Linked DNA regions of Homo sapiens: all the other regions are linked to region 1. The links are contacts of gene promoters, found by promoter capture Hi-C in human tissues and cell types (Jung and others, 2019). All regions are on one chromosome and are shown on one strand. The core of a region is centred on a gene start or on the middle of the fragment in contact, and the rest is flanking DNA. Distances in the headings are between cores, read along the strand shown.

Evidence for each region. Contacts are between HindIII fragments. The study calls those that stand out against the background at their distance.
Region 2: a fragment that was not itself captured here is called in contact with the fragment with the promoter of ENPP7 in region 1 in 3 of the 25 tissues and cell types used here (adrenal gland, dorsolateral prefrontal cortex and spleen).
Region 3: a contact is called between a fragment that was not itself captured here and the fragment with the promoter of ENPP7 in region 1, in 2 of the 25 tissues and cell types used here (psoas muscle and spleen).
Region 4: a fragment that was not itself captured here is called in contact with the fragment with the promoter of ENPP7 in region 1 in 1 of the 25 tissues and cell types used here (H1 embryonic stem cells).
Region 5: a contact is called between a fragment that was not itself captured here and the fragment with the promoter of ENPP7 in region 1, in 2 of the 25 tissues and cell types used here (lymphoblastoid cells and stomach).

Annotation. Positions count from the first base shown.
Region 1 is chr17:79,729,588-79,732,287 of GRCh38, reverse strand. It overlaps ENPP7 (ectonucleotide pyrophosphatase/phosphodiesterase 7), which reads right to left and starts at 1,345. Exons shown (of 6, transcript NM_178543.5): 1 at 896-1,345. The coding sequence starts at 1,148. RefSeq lists an enhancer at 2,546-2,700. The HindIII fragment of the contact is 31,927 bases long and covers 1-2,700 here.
Region 2 is chr17:79,977,241-79,979,940 of GRCh38, reverse strand. All of the region lies in intron 3 of TBC1D16 (TBC1 domain family member 16), which reads left to right. LOC124904073 (a long non-coding RNA gene) reads left to right here. Exons shown (of 2, transcript XR_007065930.1): 2 at 413-939. Among named protein-coding and RNA genes, the nearest start is that of LINC01979, 52 kb to the right of the region's middle. RefSeq lists a silencer at 1,567-1,746. The HindIII fragment of the contact is 5,649 bases long and covers 1-2,700 here.
Region 3 is chr17:79,871,978-79,874,736 of GRCh38, reverse strand. No RefSeq gene overlaps it. Among named protein-coding and RNA genes, the nearest start is that of CBX4, 34 kb to the right of the region's middle. The HindIII fragment of the contact is 6,412 bases long and covers 1-2,759 here.
Region 4 is chr17:79,960,030-79,962,729 of GRCh38, reverse strand. The region is part of intron 3 of TBC1D16 (TBC1 domain family member 16); the gene reads left to right. Among named protein-coding and RNA genes, the nearest start is that of LINC01979, 35 kb to the right of the region's middle. The HindIII fragment of the contact is 5,656 bases long and covers 1-2,700 here.
Region 5 is chr17:79,937,453-79,940,180 of GRCh38, reverse strand. It overlaps TBC1D16 (TBC1 domain family member 16), which reads left to right. Exons shown (of 12, transcript NM_019020.4): 12 at 1-2,728. Among named protein-coding and RNA genes, the nearest start is that of LINC01979, 12 kb to the right of the region's middle. The HindIII fragment of the contact is 9,876 bases long and covers 1-2,728 here.

The DNA of each region.
Region 1 (2,700 bases), core at 96-2,595:
TTTGTTTTTTTGACACAGGGTCTTGCTCTGTCACCCAGGCTGGAGTGCAGTGGTGTGATTGCAGCTCACTGCAGCCTCTACCTCCTGGACTCCAGCAATCCTCCTGCCTTGGCCTCATATATATATATATGTGTGTGTATATATATATATATATACATATATATATGTATATATATATGTATATATATATTATATGCAGTCTTGCTTTGTCACCCAGGCTGGAGTGCAGTGGTGCGATCTCAGCTCACTGCAACTTCCACCTCCTGGGTTCATGCAATTCTCCTGTCTCAGCCTCCCAAGTAGCTGGGATTACAAGCATGCACCATCATGCCTGGCTAATGTTTGTATTTTTAGTAGAGATGGGGTTTCGCCATGTTGGCCAGGCAGGTCTCGAACTCCTGACCTCCAGTGATCCGCCCGCCTCAGCCTCTCAAAGTGCTGGGATTACAGGCGTGGGCCACTGAGCCTGGCCCCATATTTGGCTTTTTAAAAACCTATGTCTGTATTGTCTACAGCCTGGGCAGATCTGTCAGGGAGGTGTTGGGTGGAAAATGGAAAGGATGGAAGGGAGAGGGAGAGGCTGACACAGCCAGCTGGAGGGGCGGGCAGGGGAGGGGAGCCATGGGAGCCAGCGGGGAGCCCGCCACACTCCCCTCCTCCTGAAGCCTTCTGGGGTTGCTGCCCTGGCTGTGGCCACGGGTTTAAGGACCCCCCTGGTCATTTTTCTTTGTCCCGGATCTGTTGCTACCAACGGTGAGGATTCCTAATGGTCCCCTTGGCTCTGTCCTGTGCCTGGAGCAAGGACCTCTCCCCTTTATCCTGCACGACACGGCTCTGTGCCATCTGGTTTCTCAGGCCCTCCCACCCCCAGGCCCCGTCACAGGGCAGTACTCACCGGTGACCAGGGTGAAGTGGCAGGGGCTGGTCATGGTGACAAAGGCGGGGGTCATGTAGCGTGCCTTCACCCCGTCTCGGGCCATGGCGTCCAGGTTGGGGGTGTCCACGTCCTGGTCGTAGTTCCAGCGGAAGCCGTCGAAGGACACCAGGAGCAGCTTGTTCTGGGAGCCCTGACTTTGTACCGGTGCTCCGGCCCCGGGAGCCAGGAGCGTGGCCAGAGCCACAGTGAGGAGGACGGCCGGGCCTCTCATGCTGGGCCTTCCAGATGGACAGGCACACAGGGTGCACAGGGCTGGCTCCTGCCGAGGAGGACAAAGTCCCAGGGTCACCCGGGCTGATCTCATCCCGTGCGCCTTTGGAATGTGGCTGTGCACATCCCCGGGTCGAACCTCGGGAGTGGGCTCCCCAGCCGTGTCAGTGCCACCCCTGGTCCCAGCCTCACGTGCGTGGGGTGGCATCAACTTGAGCATCTGCCTTTATTGCCAGCCGCGCCCTTGGTGCTCCAGGCTCCTCCCCTCCCTCCCCAGAGTGGGGACAGTGACCCAGGGCTCAGAGCACAGCAGGAGCCCATTCCACTGGGAAAGTCGTGCCCTCTCCCTCTCCCATAGCAACAGGTGGTCCCTCTGTCCCAGCTCACCCTGACCCCAGGGGACCCAGGTGAGGCTGGGGTGGGACCCCCTCTCCAGGCCTTTAGTGGTGCATGGGCCTCAGGCCTGCCTGGGTGAGGGCCTGTGGGGTGGGCTTCCCATGGTCAGGGCCAGGACCAAGCCTGGGTCACAGCATGGCCTTGTCCGGGGGGAACCCCAGGCTGGGTGCCTGTTCTCCTCCTGGTCCTGTTAAGGGGCTCCTTGAGCGTGGTGAGCAGACCGGGAACCGGATGGCTCCAGACCAGCGTCCTGTGGGCCTTCCTTCTTGGGATGCTTCCTTCTTGGGATGCTTCCTTCTTGGGAATTTCAGAGGGTGCCTGGGGCTCGGACGTTCTTGCTTGATGACAACAAGGGGTCAGAAGAGGGGGACTCCCTTGTTACCATAGGCACATGAAGGGTGGGAGAGGAACCCCTGGATTCAGTGTGCGGTTCTCCCTCCCTCTCCCCCATCTCTCCTTCCCCTTCTCTTATTTTCTCTCTCTTTCTCTGTCTCTCTCCCTCTTTCCTTCCCTGTATGTCTCTGTCTCAGTTCCTATTAAGCACGTTCTGTGTGCCAGGCATGGTTCTAGGTTCTGGGGACACAGAAGTGAATGAGACAGACAATGTTCCTCGTGGCCTCCATTCGAGTTGGGGACACAGAAGATAAAATGAACAAACAAGAAAAAAAGAGTTTCCCAAAAGAAGGGAAGGCAGGAAGACGTGATGGAGAGGCTGGCGGGGTGGGTGGGCGGCACGCAGTGGTGGCTGGTGGGGTTTCGCTGAGAGGATGGTGGAGGCCAGTGACTCTGGGGGACCATGAGCTAGGGGAGCGGGCATGGGGCAGGTGGCAGGGGTGGCAGGGCCAGTCCCGTAGGGCAGGTGGCGGTGATTCTCATGCCAGGCAGTGGAAGCCAGGCGGGGGTTTTAAGCAAGAGAGTGACATGAACTGATCTAATGCTAAAATATACTCTCCATTTGTGGGTGAAGGATAGACCAGAACGAGGGCAGAATGGACACTGGGTGCTCCCTGGAGAGGTGACTGCCTGTGTCTGAGCAAGAGCTATTGGTGGCCCGGACCAGGGTGGTGGCTGTGGGATGGGGCTGGGTTTGAGGCGGATCCTGGAGGTTTTGCTGGGAGGTGGTGCGCTGGATTGCATGGTGGGAGGTGGTGCACTGG
Region 2 (2,700 bases), core at 32-2,531, 250 kb before region 1:
TGGGACCTGGACCTTGGCCTCCTGCGCCCCAAGCTCTGGCCCGCAGAGCCCACCACCTGGAAGCCAGAGCCCACCCATAGCAAGGCCTCTGTCTGTGAAGACCCCTCCCCTCCTTGCTACTTGGTTATTCTCTGGCCTCAGTCTCTGCTTGGTTCTCTAGTCAGGGTGAGCTTTTGGTGGATGTGAAGGGAGACCAGGGTCCTTTCCTGCTCCTAGTGAGAACCGTGGGATTTGCGGCCTGACAGGTTACATTCCTTTCCGGGCTGATGTCCCAGCTGTGTTTGCAGGAAACAGTGAAGGTCGACGTGTGCCTTTTTATGGCACCGAATAACCTGGACCTGCGACAGGAACCGTGAGCGTCTTTCTGTCCCCTAAAAGTATTTGGATACTAATTGACTGTTTGGTCCTGCAGAGATGACACAGGGACGTCTTCACGCCCAGATGCATTTGCAGCTATGCGGTCCTCCCGCCTCCCGCTTCAGGCCTCTCCCATCTCCCCTGGGTTTCCACACAGTGTCGCAGCTTCACCTCGAGAGGGCCACGTGATTGGCGGCACTGGGGATGCCTGAGCCCTTGATCCCTCTGCTGGGGTCCAGGGCGTGGGTGTGCATCCCTGGAGCGTGTGTGCTCTGGGCGTGGGTGTGCGTCCCCGGAGCGCGTGTGCTCTGGGCGTGGGTGTGCATCCCCGGAGCGTGTGTGCTCTAGGCGTGGGTGTGCGTCCCCGGAGCGTGTGTGCTCTGGCCTTCCCTGCCCAGCTCCTATGGCTCCTCCTTTCCCTAGGTTGGGCAGAATCTCCCAGGTGTGCTGCTGATGGACAGGCTGAGAGCGTGGAGCCCACGAGGGCGCTTTGGTTTAGAATCATCTCATTGGTTTGCCCACGTTAAGCTCCTATAAAATCTAGGGGAAAAAAAATAAACATTCTTTTTGGGTTCAGAAAAATCTCTTGGCTGTTTTCTTCCCAGTAATGTGTATTTCAAGGACGAAGTCGAGAGGGAATGAAAACAGAACGATTGGCTCTCAAAAGCCTGGTTCAGGAGCAACTGGGAGTGGTCTCTAGACTGCTTGAGCTATTAATTATTTTGCTTTATTTATTAGATGTACCCAGCGTCCCTTTGCCTCCAAGCATATTTGCAAATGCCTTAAGGGAAAAAGAAAAACAAATGATTCCTGCCATCAGAGTCTCCAGCCCTTAATGAATAACACCGTGTAATCACGCTGAATGGAAAAAGCCCAGTACGGCATCACGTGCACGTCCTGAGTCTAAGTCGTCACAGTCGTAAATGCACGGGACCCACGGAAGCTCAGAAACTCGTAACAGCTGTGAGATCTGTTCAGTGGAATTTTTCTTAATTTCCCTGGGAAATCCACAAGGTCACTCCATATGACTAAGAAAAAATTAAAACAGAAACAGCACTCAAAGGCCTGGTACATTCTCTCCTCCTACCTGCCGCGGATTGTTGCCCGCCCGCCACGGCCCCCACCCCGCCCCCACGGCTGGCAAAGGAACAGAAGAAAGGCCGGGCCTGGTTATCTTTTCCTAAACCGTGCTGGTAATCAACCTGAAGGATGTGCCTGCCCGCTTCCTCCCAGTGATTTACACCTTCCCTAATTAGCCGTGATGTTGCAGATCGGCAGAGTTAATCGCCGGAGCGGAGACCCTGCCTTCCCAGTTCCCAGCAGCTCTGGCTCTGGGAGTGTGCCGCCCATGCCGCGAGGAGCTGCGATTCATCCCCGCCCCGCTTGGCCCTGTATTTTCCGGCCTTGCTGCTCCCAGTCCCTCTGGCTGGAAAAGCCAGGCTGTCTCGGTGCATGCGGGATGTCGGCGCTCCCGAGCTCGACCGTGACCATGGGGCAGGTTCTAGGCCTGGGATGGCAGAATCCGGCCGGCTGTGCGCCCATCACTTAACATTGCCACTTATGTCAGAAATGGCAGCTTGAGCCTAATAGAGCCAGCTTCCCGTGGGCCCCCCTCAGCATCCAGGCCTCTGAAAAGCTTAGGGGTCCCACCCCGGCAGCAGAAGGCACCGCAGTCGCCGAGGCTTTATTGCTCTGCCTCTTCGAACTGGCAGCCGCATCAATCGCCCTCCCGTGCACAGCCGGCTGGGCTCTGCGAGCAGACTCCAGAGCTGGGTCTGGCTGCCTCTGTGGTCAGCGGGAAGCTGGCAGAGTCCAGCCTCTCGGCTGGATGAGTCCAGTACCGCCGTGTGCACATGTGTGTGTGATGCTAATTATGCCAGACGTGCTTCAGTTTTGCTGGGAACAGTTAGCTTACTGTGCATTTTAGAAACTGCCAGGATTTTAGAGCCTAATGGGGTTCCTAGAGATCGTAGCGTCCAGCCAACTCATCGCCGTCTCACAGGTGGGGGAAGGAAGGTGCGGAGAGCTCTCTCTCCTCCGTCACCCCCATCCTGCTGCGTGCCAGGCCCTGTGGGGCAAGGGTTGCAGAGATGGCTGAGACATCACCCTTGCCTGGGGGACCAAGACACACCAGTGGGTTGCAGATGCTGGGAAGGGGCCAGGTGGAGGGATGAGGCGTCAGGGAAGGTGGTCTCTGCCTCGTTGGAGTCAGAGACCCGGAGGTGGAGGCTGCTGCTCCACACGGACCCCTTCCCATCCCATCCCCTCCTCAGCCTTGTAATCTGTGTGACCTGCACGTCCCTGTGCACCGGGCCGTCTCTGGGATGGGGCGGGGCTCCATGC
Region 3 (2,759 bases), core at 217-2,716, 140 kb before region 1:
GAGCCGTGATTGTGCCACTGCACTCCAGCCTGGGCAACAAAGTGAGACCCTGTCTCAAAAATAACATAAAATGAAAATAAAAGGGGGACAGGTTAAAGAACCTACATGGAAGTAAGGCTTCCACATTCACTGCAGGTGGTAAAATGCTACCCGTGTACCTTGTAATAACCAGAGCGACCACTAGGGAAGTGATACAAAGAAACGCCCTCTAGATGACTATAAATCAACCAAGATGAACCTCAATCCTAATGTTCAAGGAATCCACAGAAAAGCAAGAAAACATACACAGAGAAAACAAATCCTTAAATGGCAGACCTAAGTCCTAACATATTGATAATTTTCTTTAAAGGTAAATGAAATACACCAAGTAAAAAGCAAGAGATTGGCAGTCTATTTTTTGAAAAACAACCTAACCATACACTGTTTACAAGAAACTCGCTTCAAATTCAATGGTGACATTTCACCAAAGAGAATATACAGATGGCAAGTGAGCACATGAAAAGCTGTCCAACACCATGAGCCATGGGGGGAATGCAAATTAGAACCACAGTGAGATACCATCAACACCTATCAGAAATTAAAAATAGTGGCAACGCCAAATGCTGGTGGGGATGCACAGAAATAGGATCACTCAGAAAATGCTACCGGGGGCCAGGCGTGGTGGCTCACGCCTGTAATCCCAGCACTCTGGGAGGCCAAGGCGGGTGGATCACCTGAGGTCAGGAGTTCGGAACCAGCCTGGCCAACATGGTGAAACCCTATCTCTACAAAAATTAGCTGGGCATGATGGCGGGTGTCTATAATCCCAGCTACTCGGGAGGCTGAGGCAGGAGTGTTGCTTGAACTGAGGAGGTACAAGTTGCAGTGAGCCAAGATCGTGCCATTGCACTCCAGCCTCGGCGACAGAGCAAAACTCCGTCTCGAAAAAAAAAAAAAAGAAAAAAACAAGAAAAAGAAACTGCTACTGGTCCTGTCACATGGTGCAGCCCCTCTGGAAAACAATTTGGCAGTTTCTTATAAAACTAAACACACAATTGCCATAAGACCCAGCAACTGTGCTCTTGGCCATTTATCCCAGAGAAATGGAAGCTTTTGTTCACATCAAAACCTATACACAAGGCTGGGCGTGGTAGATTACGCCTATAGTCCCAACACCCTGGGAGGCCGAGGCGGGAGGATTACTCAGTCAGGAGTTTGCGATCAGCCCAGGCAACATAGCAAGACCCTGTCTCTATAAAAAAACTTTAAAAATTAGCAGGGCGTGGTGGTGCACACTTGTAGTCCCAGCTACTCAGAAGGCTGAGTGGGGAGGATCACTTGAGCCTGGGAGTTTGAGGCTACAGTGAGCTGTGATTGTGCCACTACACTCCAGCCTGGGCGACAGAGCAAGACCCTGTCTCTAAAAAATAAAAATAAAAAATAAAAGAAGCTGCATACAAGTGTTCATAGCAGCTTATGCATAATAGCCAAAAACCAGAAACACCTGGTTGACCTTCAGTGGGCGAATGCTAAACATGCTGTCGTGCCTCCACGTCACGGATCGGGAAAAGGAACCCCGGACTGGGCCACACAAGACCTTGCAGGAATCTCCAGGGAATGATTTTGAGGGAAAAAGCCACTCCCAGAAGGTTACAAGGTGTATGATTCCGTTCACATAAGATTCTTGAAATAACAGACTTGGAGACTTGGAGGCAGATTAGGAAGAGGAAGGAGGTCGGTCCAGTTGCAAAAGAGTGATCCAGGGCGTCCTTGGGGTGCCGCAGCGTTCAGCGTTGTGACTGCGGTGGTGGATACAGGAAGCTACACAGGTCACAGAAAGGAAATACACACAAATGGGTACAAGCAGAAGGGAAACGTCAGTAAGATGGGTTCACCGGATCAATATCCACGTCTTGGTTGTAACATTGTACTCTAGTCTTACAAGACACCACCATGGGTGGGACTCTGGGTAGGGGACATAGATCCTTCTGTATTATTTCTTACAACAACAACATGTAAATAAACAATTATCTCAACATTAAAATGTTAATTTAAAAAATAAACAAAACCTACTCAGCACTTTGGGAGGCCAAGGTGAGCAGATTGCTTGAGCCCAAGAGTTTGACACCAGCCGAAGCAACAAAGTGAGACCCAGTCTCGAAAAGAGAGAAGAGAGGAGAGGGAAGGGGATGGGAAAGGAGGGGAAAGCAGGGGAGGGGAGGGAGGGGAGGGGAAAGCAGGGGAGGGGAGGGAGACAAAGAGACGAGAGGGGAGGGGACAGGAGGGGAGGGGAAGGGAGGAGAGGGGAGGGGAGGGATTAGCTGGGTATGGTGGCATATGCCTGTGGTCCCAGCTACTCGGGAGGCTGAGGTGGGAGAATCGCTTGAGCCTGGGAGGTCAAGCCTGCAGTGAGCCGTGATCATGCCACTGCACTACAGCCTGAGTGACACAGCAAGATTGTCTCAAATAAATAAATAAATAAAATCTAGTTCAAGCTTTCAAGCTGGTGTTTAAAAAAAGAAAAGAAAGAAACCGAACCAAACCATAACTGCCTCCTGACTGCCCTCACCTCCAGTTCTGCTGCCTGTGTGTGTGTGTCCGTCCATCTGTCTGTCCCACCAGCCACTGCTGCAGAAAGCTCCTGCCCTGTGTTTTCGAAGGCAGCTGTGCTGTGGTGGGGCTGGAATCAAAAGCCAGAGGCAGATGGGCACGTTTTCATCCTCCCTGCATCTTCCAGGGTGTGGACTTCGGCAAAGACTTCACATAGAAGTCCCCAAATC
Region 4 (2,700 bases), core at 82-2,581, 230 kb before region 1:
ACTCCTGACCTCAAGTGACCTGCCCACCTCAGCCTCCCAAAGTGCTGGAATTACAGGCATGAGCCACCGCGCCTGGCCTGGAAGCTATTGTTTAATAGGTATAGAGCTTTTGTTTTACAAGATGAAAAGAGTTCTGGAAATGGAAGGTGATGATCATTGTACAATATTAGAAATATATTTAATACCTGAACTGTACATTTAAAAATGGTTGAGATGGGGCCGGGTGTGGTGGGTCACACCTGTAATCCCAGCACTTTGGGAGGCAAGGTGGGCGGATCACCTGAGGTCAGGAGTTTGAGGCCAGCTGGCCAACATGGTGAAACCCCATCTCTACTAAAAATACAAAAATTAGCCAGGCGTGGTGGCGGGTACCTGTAATCCCAGATACTTGGGAGGCTGAGGCAGGAGAATTGCTTGAGTCCGGGAGGTGGAGGTTGCAGTGAGCCAAGATCTTGCCACTGCACTGTAGCCTGGCCAACAGAGTGAGATGACTCTGTCTCAAAAAAAAAAAAAAAAAAAAAAAAAAAATAGGTTGAGATGGTAAATTTGATGATAAGTATTTTTTAACACAATAAAATAATTGGAAAAAGGAAAAAAGTTGCATCTGCTTTGCATCACTCTAGATTTGTTTGCCTTTTCTAGAATTTTATGTAAATGGGATCATGCAGTATGTGCTTGTTTTTTGTCCTGCTTCTTTCAATCAGCATAATAATTTTGTCATGCGTCCATGCTACTGCGTGTTACAGCTGAGTAGTATGCCATGGTATGTACAGACCACGATTCATTACTGCATTGGCTGTTGATAAACCCTGGGTTGTTTTCAGTTCTTATCTATTTTATTTTATTATTTTTATTTTTATTTTTTTGAGATGGAGTTTTGCTCTTCTTGCCTAGGCTGGAGCGCAGTCTCGTGATCTTGGCTCACTGCAACCTCTGCCTCCAGGGTTCAAGCAAGTCTCCTGCCTGAGCCTCCCGAGTAGCTGGGATTATAGGCGCCCGCCACCACGTCTGGCTGATTTTTTGTATTTTTGGTAGATACAGTGTTTCACCATGTTGGTCACACTGGTCTCAAACTCCTGACCTCAGGTGATCCACCAGCCTCGGCCTCCCAAAGTGCTGGGATTATAGGCGTGAGCCACTGTGCCTGGCCAGTTCTTAGCTATTTTAGATAAAGCTGTTACACACATTTATGTGCAAGTCTTTGCACGTGGACATATGTTTTTATTTCTCTTGGTAAATACTTGGGAATGGAATAACTGGAAACAGGCATGTGTTTAATTTTTAAGAAATTACTGAACTGCTTTCCTAAAGTGGTTTGCCGTGTTGCATTCCCACCAGCAGTCCGTGAGAGTTCCAGTTCCTCCATGTCCTCAGCAACACTTGCTATGATCAGTCTTGTCCACTGTAGCCATTCTAATAGGTGAGTAGGAGTATCTCATTGTGGTTTTAATTTGCATTTTCCTGACTACAGAGGATGCTGAGTATCTTCTCATGTAGCCTTTTGTGTCTGGCTTCTTTCACTTAACATAATACAACTGAGATGCTTCCATATCGTCATGCATATCAGCAGTTTGCTCCTTTTTATTGCTGAGGCGTATGTATTCCCTTGTTAAGATGTACCATTGTTTGTTTAGCCATTCACCAGCTGAAAGACGTTTGTGTCATTTCCTGTTTTCTGCAATGATGAATAAAACTGCTATAAACATTCACACACAGATTTCGTGTGAACATTTTCCATGTATTTTGGGTAAATACCTAGGGGGCATTGCTGAGTCATATGGTAGGGGTGTGTGTGACTTTATAAGACACTGCCAAACAGTTCTCCAGAGTGGTTCTGTCATTTGACTTCCCGTCACATTGTAGGAGAGTTCTGTTGCTCGCCTCCTGGCCAGCACTCACAGTGTCAGTTTCATTCCTTCGTTTTTTTTTTTTTTTTTTTTTTTTTTTTTTGGGTTTTTGTTTTTTGGGTTTTTTTGAGACAGAGTCTCACTCTGTCGCTCGGGCTGAAGTGCAGTGGCATGATGTTGGCTCACTGCAACCTCGCCTCCAGGGTTCAAGTGATTCTCCTGCCTCAGCCTCTGGAGTAGCTGGGATAACAGAGGTGCACTGCGATGCCTACTAATTTTTTGTATTTTTAGCAGAAACGGGATTTCGCCATGTTGCCCAGGCTAGTCTTGAACTCCTGAGCTCAGGTGACCCACCCGCCTCAGCTTCCCAAAATGCTGGGATTACAAGCTTGAACTGCCTTGCTCGTGGCCTCATTCATTTGTTTTTTAGTCATTCCAATAGATGTGTAGTGGATCACATCATGTTCCTTTAGATTGCATTGAGGTTTCTTTCTATTTGCATTTCTCTAATAATGAATGCTGTCGAGCACCTTTTCATAGGCTTCTTGGCCATCTGAATATCCTCTTTGGTGAAATGTCTTTTCAAATCTTTTGCCCATGTTTGGATTGTGTTTTCTTATTACTGTTTTGAGGACCTTTTCTATATTCTGTATAGAATGATGATTTAAAGCATATTACTGACTTATATGATAAGCCCTTTATCATATAAGCATTTGGCAAATATCTTTTTCCCAGTCTGTGGCTTATCTTTTTATTTTCTTAACAATATCTCTTAAAGAGTAGAAGGTTTTCATTTTAATGAAGATTAATTTTTTTTTTCACTTATGGTCATATGTTGGTGTCTGGTCTAAGA
Region 5 (2,728 bases), core at 149-2,648, 210 kb before region 1:
CCTCCTGGTACACGAAGGGAACTGTCTGCCCAGGAGCCTGAGCCTCAGGCTGTTGGAGAAGCATCTGATGCCTTTTTCTTTGCTGGGGGTCTTCTACGTGAGGTTCCTTGGCGTTGTTTAAGGTCAACTCCACCAAATACAGCAACCAGCTGGGGCTTGAATGGGTCGATGTGTGCGTGTGTCCCTGCGTGCATGCATGCATGCACACGTGCGTGCGTGTTTGTGTTTGCAAGATCCTCTGACAATGATCTGCTTTGTCCCAGGGACGTGGTAGTGTATTAGCTGACCAACCAAGACAAGGACACCTGGAAATAGTTAGACTCTTCCACTTCCCTTCAGGACCTGTGAACTCAGATATGTAAGTCAGCTTCTCAGGTGGTCGGACGTGAGAGCGACCACAGTGAAGGAGCCAGCACTCAGGGCTCTCTGCCTTCTATGTGGGAATGAGGTCTTCCCAACAGACTCTCCCTCTTCCAAAAGATTGTGTATCAGTTGCTCCTTCTGGGATTTAGAGATGGACAGAAAAGGGTGTGCGATCTATGCTGTGAGAACTCCCAGCCAGCTTAGAAGTGTCGAGCCATTTGCACAGAAAGCCACTCCTTGAGCGAGGAGACCAAATCCCTCCTGAAATCCTCCATCGCGTCCTTCTGGGGAGAAAAACCCTTGATGTGCTGAGAACCATCATGGGGACCAGGATAGAAGGCTTCTTCCCACTCAAAGCTTTTCTCCCTGGAGGGTGGGCACTGCTGGGCCATGCCACTTCAAAGCAGTGTTCCTCAGCAGGAAAGCGGAGGTCACCACTTACCGGCCTCCTCCACCTTCTCGGCTTCTCTTTTCTCCATGAACCCAGGTCGTCCAGCAGGTACTTCCAAGTTCCCAGGTCTGTCTGCCTAAGAGCCTTTTGAGGAGACCGTCCTGGAGCCCCATCAGTGCCCAGATCCTGGGGTACCGACCATTGCTGTCTAGCAGTGGGGGATCCTGTGGTGGGAATGGGGTGGGCTTCTCATCCATGTTGCTTCTGGGAAGAGAGGGTTGCCTTTCTGGGCTAGGGAGGTGGCTGGAGCTTCTGCCCTGACCCTCCGCTAGAAACCAGTTATATCCATTGCCACAGCAATACTGTGTAACAAATCCGCCAACACTCGGTGGCCTGCAACAGTCAGCACTGATCTAGGGCAGGAGTCAGCAGTCTGGGCAGGGTGATTCTTCTGGTCTAGGCTGGGCTTGTTTGTTTAGGGCCAGTGGGTTGTTAAGTCCCAGGGGATGCTCATGGTGCAGAGGTCGGACCTGGCCCTGCTCTGTGGTCTCTTGCATCCCTCCTGCAGGCCAGCCATGGCACAGCCAAAGGCACGGAGGGAGAGACAGCAAGTGCCTTTCCAAGCCTTGGTGGACACCACACCTGCAGCTCTCCCCTTGGCCACAGCAAGTCACGTGGCTGGGCTCAGCATTAAGGGGTGGGGGACAGGCCTGCCACTTTATTGTCCGCTCTGCACAGTCGGGTGGCAGTAGGCTGAGAATTTGGAGGGCTAAACAACTGGGACTCTGGAGAGTCTGTGTCCTAATAATGCCTGCTTTGGAGCACTCCTTCCCCACCCGCCTGCTCCAGGGGAATAGCGTCCCTGGTCCTAGCATTTCACTAGATACCTCGTGCCTTTGAACCGCTGTGTTTGGGAGGGAGGAAGAGGATAGACAGGTCCAGGGCTCCCCTCACTTGGGAAGGTCCTAGTAGAAGGCATTCCTTCTGAGTCTCCTGGCCCTACAGCTTCTCACCCCTGCTGCTCCCCAAGACCTGACCCGGACCAATCAGCTGCATCTCTGCACCAAGTGCCACCCCCACCGTGCACTGCTCGCACCTCACGCTCCCCATGGGCTGGCCCGGACCCCAGTGAGGTCTGCACCTCTCGGACCAGCCAGGACCTCGGAAGCCATGAGCTGGGTGTTCAGGGCTTGGCGGAGGAGACGCTGCTCCGCGGGGGATGGAGAAGCCCCGCCCCTCCACAACTCCCTTAATCTGGATGCAATTAGAGGAAACCAGCCAAAAACCCCGCGGCAGCTGTTGCCCCGGGATTATTCCCAGCCAGCGAGAGGCATTAGGGCGATAATTCAGTCATTAGACTTCTAGCCTTCCCACCGCCAGAACGTGCAAATAGGGGATAATCAGCCCTGCACGGCCATCCTCAGCAATGCTGCTTATTTAACCCATTTTTTAAAATGACACTTAATGTTATTGGCTGGCGTACGTGTGTGCGCATACTTAAAAGTTGATGCGTGGTGCAGCTCTGCTGCTAATGTCTGCTGACAGCGTCGCCCGATGTTGCTCAGGGCCTCTGGGAAGAGGGGACACCTTTGATGTGGGCGTGCTGGCACCCAAGAGGCAACGTGGTCAGGCTCGATGCTTGCCAGCCCTGGAAGGTCCCGCCAGGGTTGGGGGGTCGGGTGAGCACTCAGAGATCTGGGGAGGAAGCGAGGAGCCTGGTGTCCTCACCAGGTGCAGAGGGGAAATGCGTACTGCTCCAGAAGGTTCTGACTCAAGTCTCGGCCCTGAGGACTCAGAACTCACAAGTCATGGATCAAGTACAGAGGGAGGGAGGGCCCCAGCCCACCCCTGCGGGGGAGGAGGAGGGTCTGAAGGTGGGAGGGCAGCTCCATGAGCAGCCACTGTTCCTGACCAGCCGAAGTGCCAGGCAGGGGGAGGTTTCCATGTCCAGGAGGGAGAGGACCTCCACCCTCT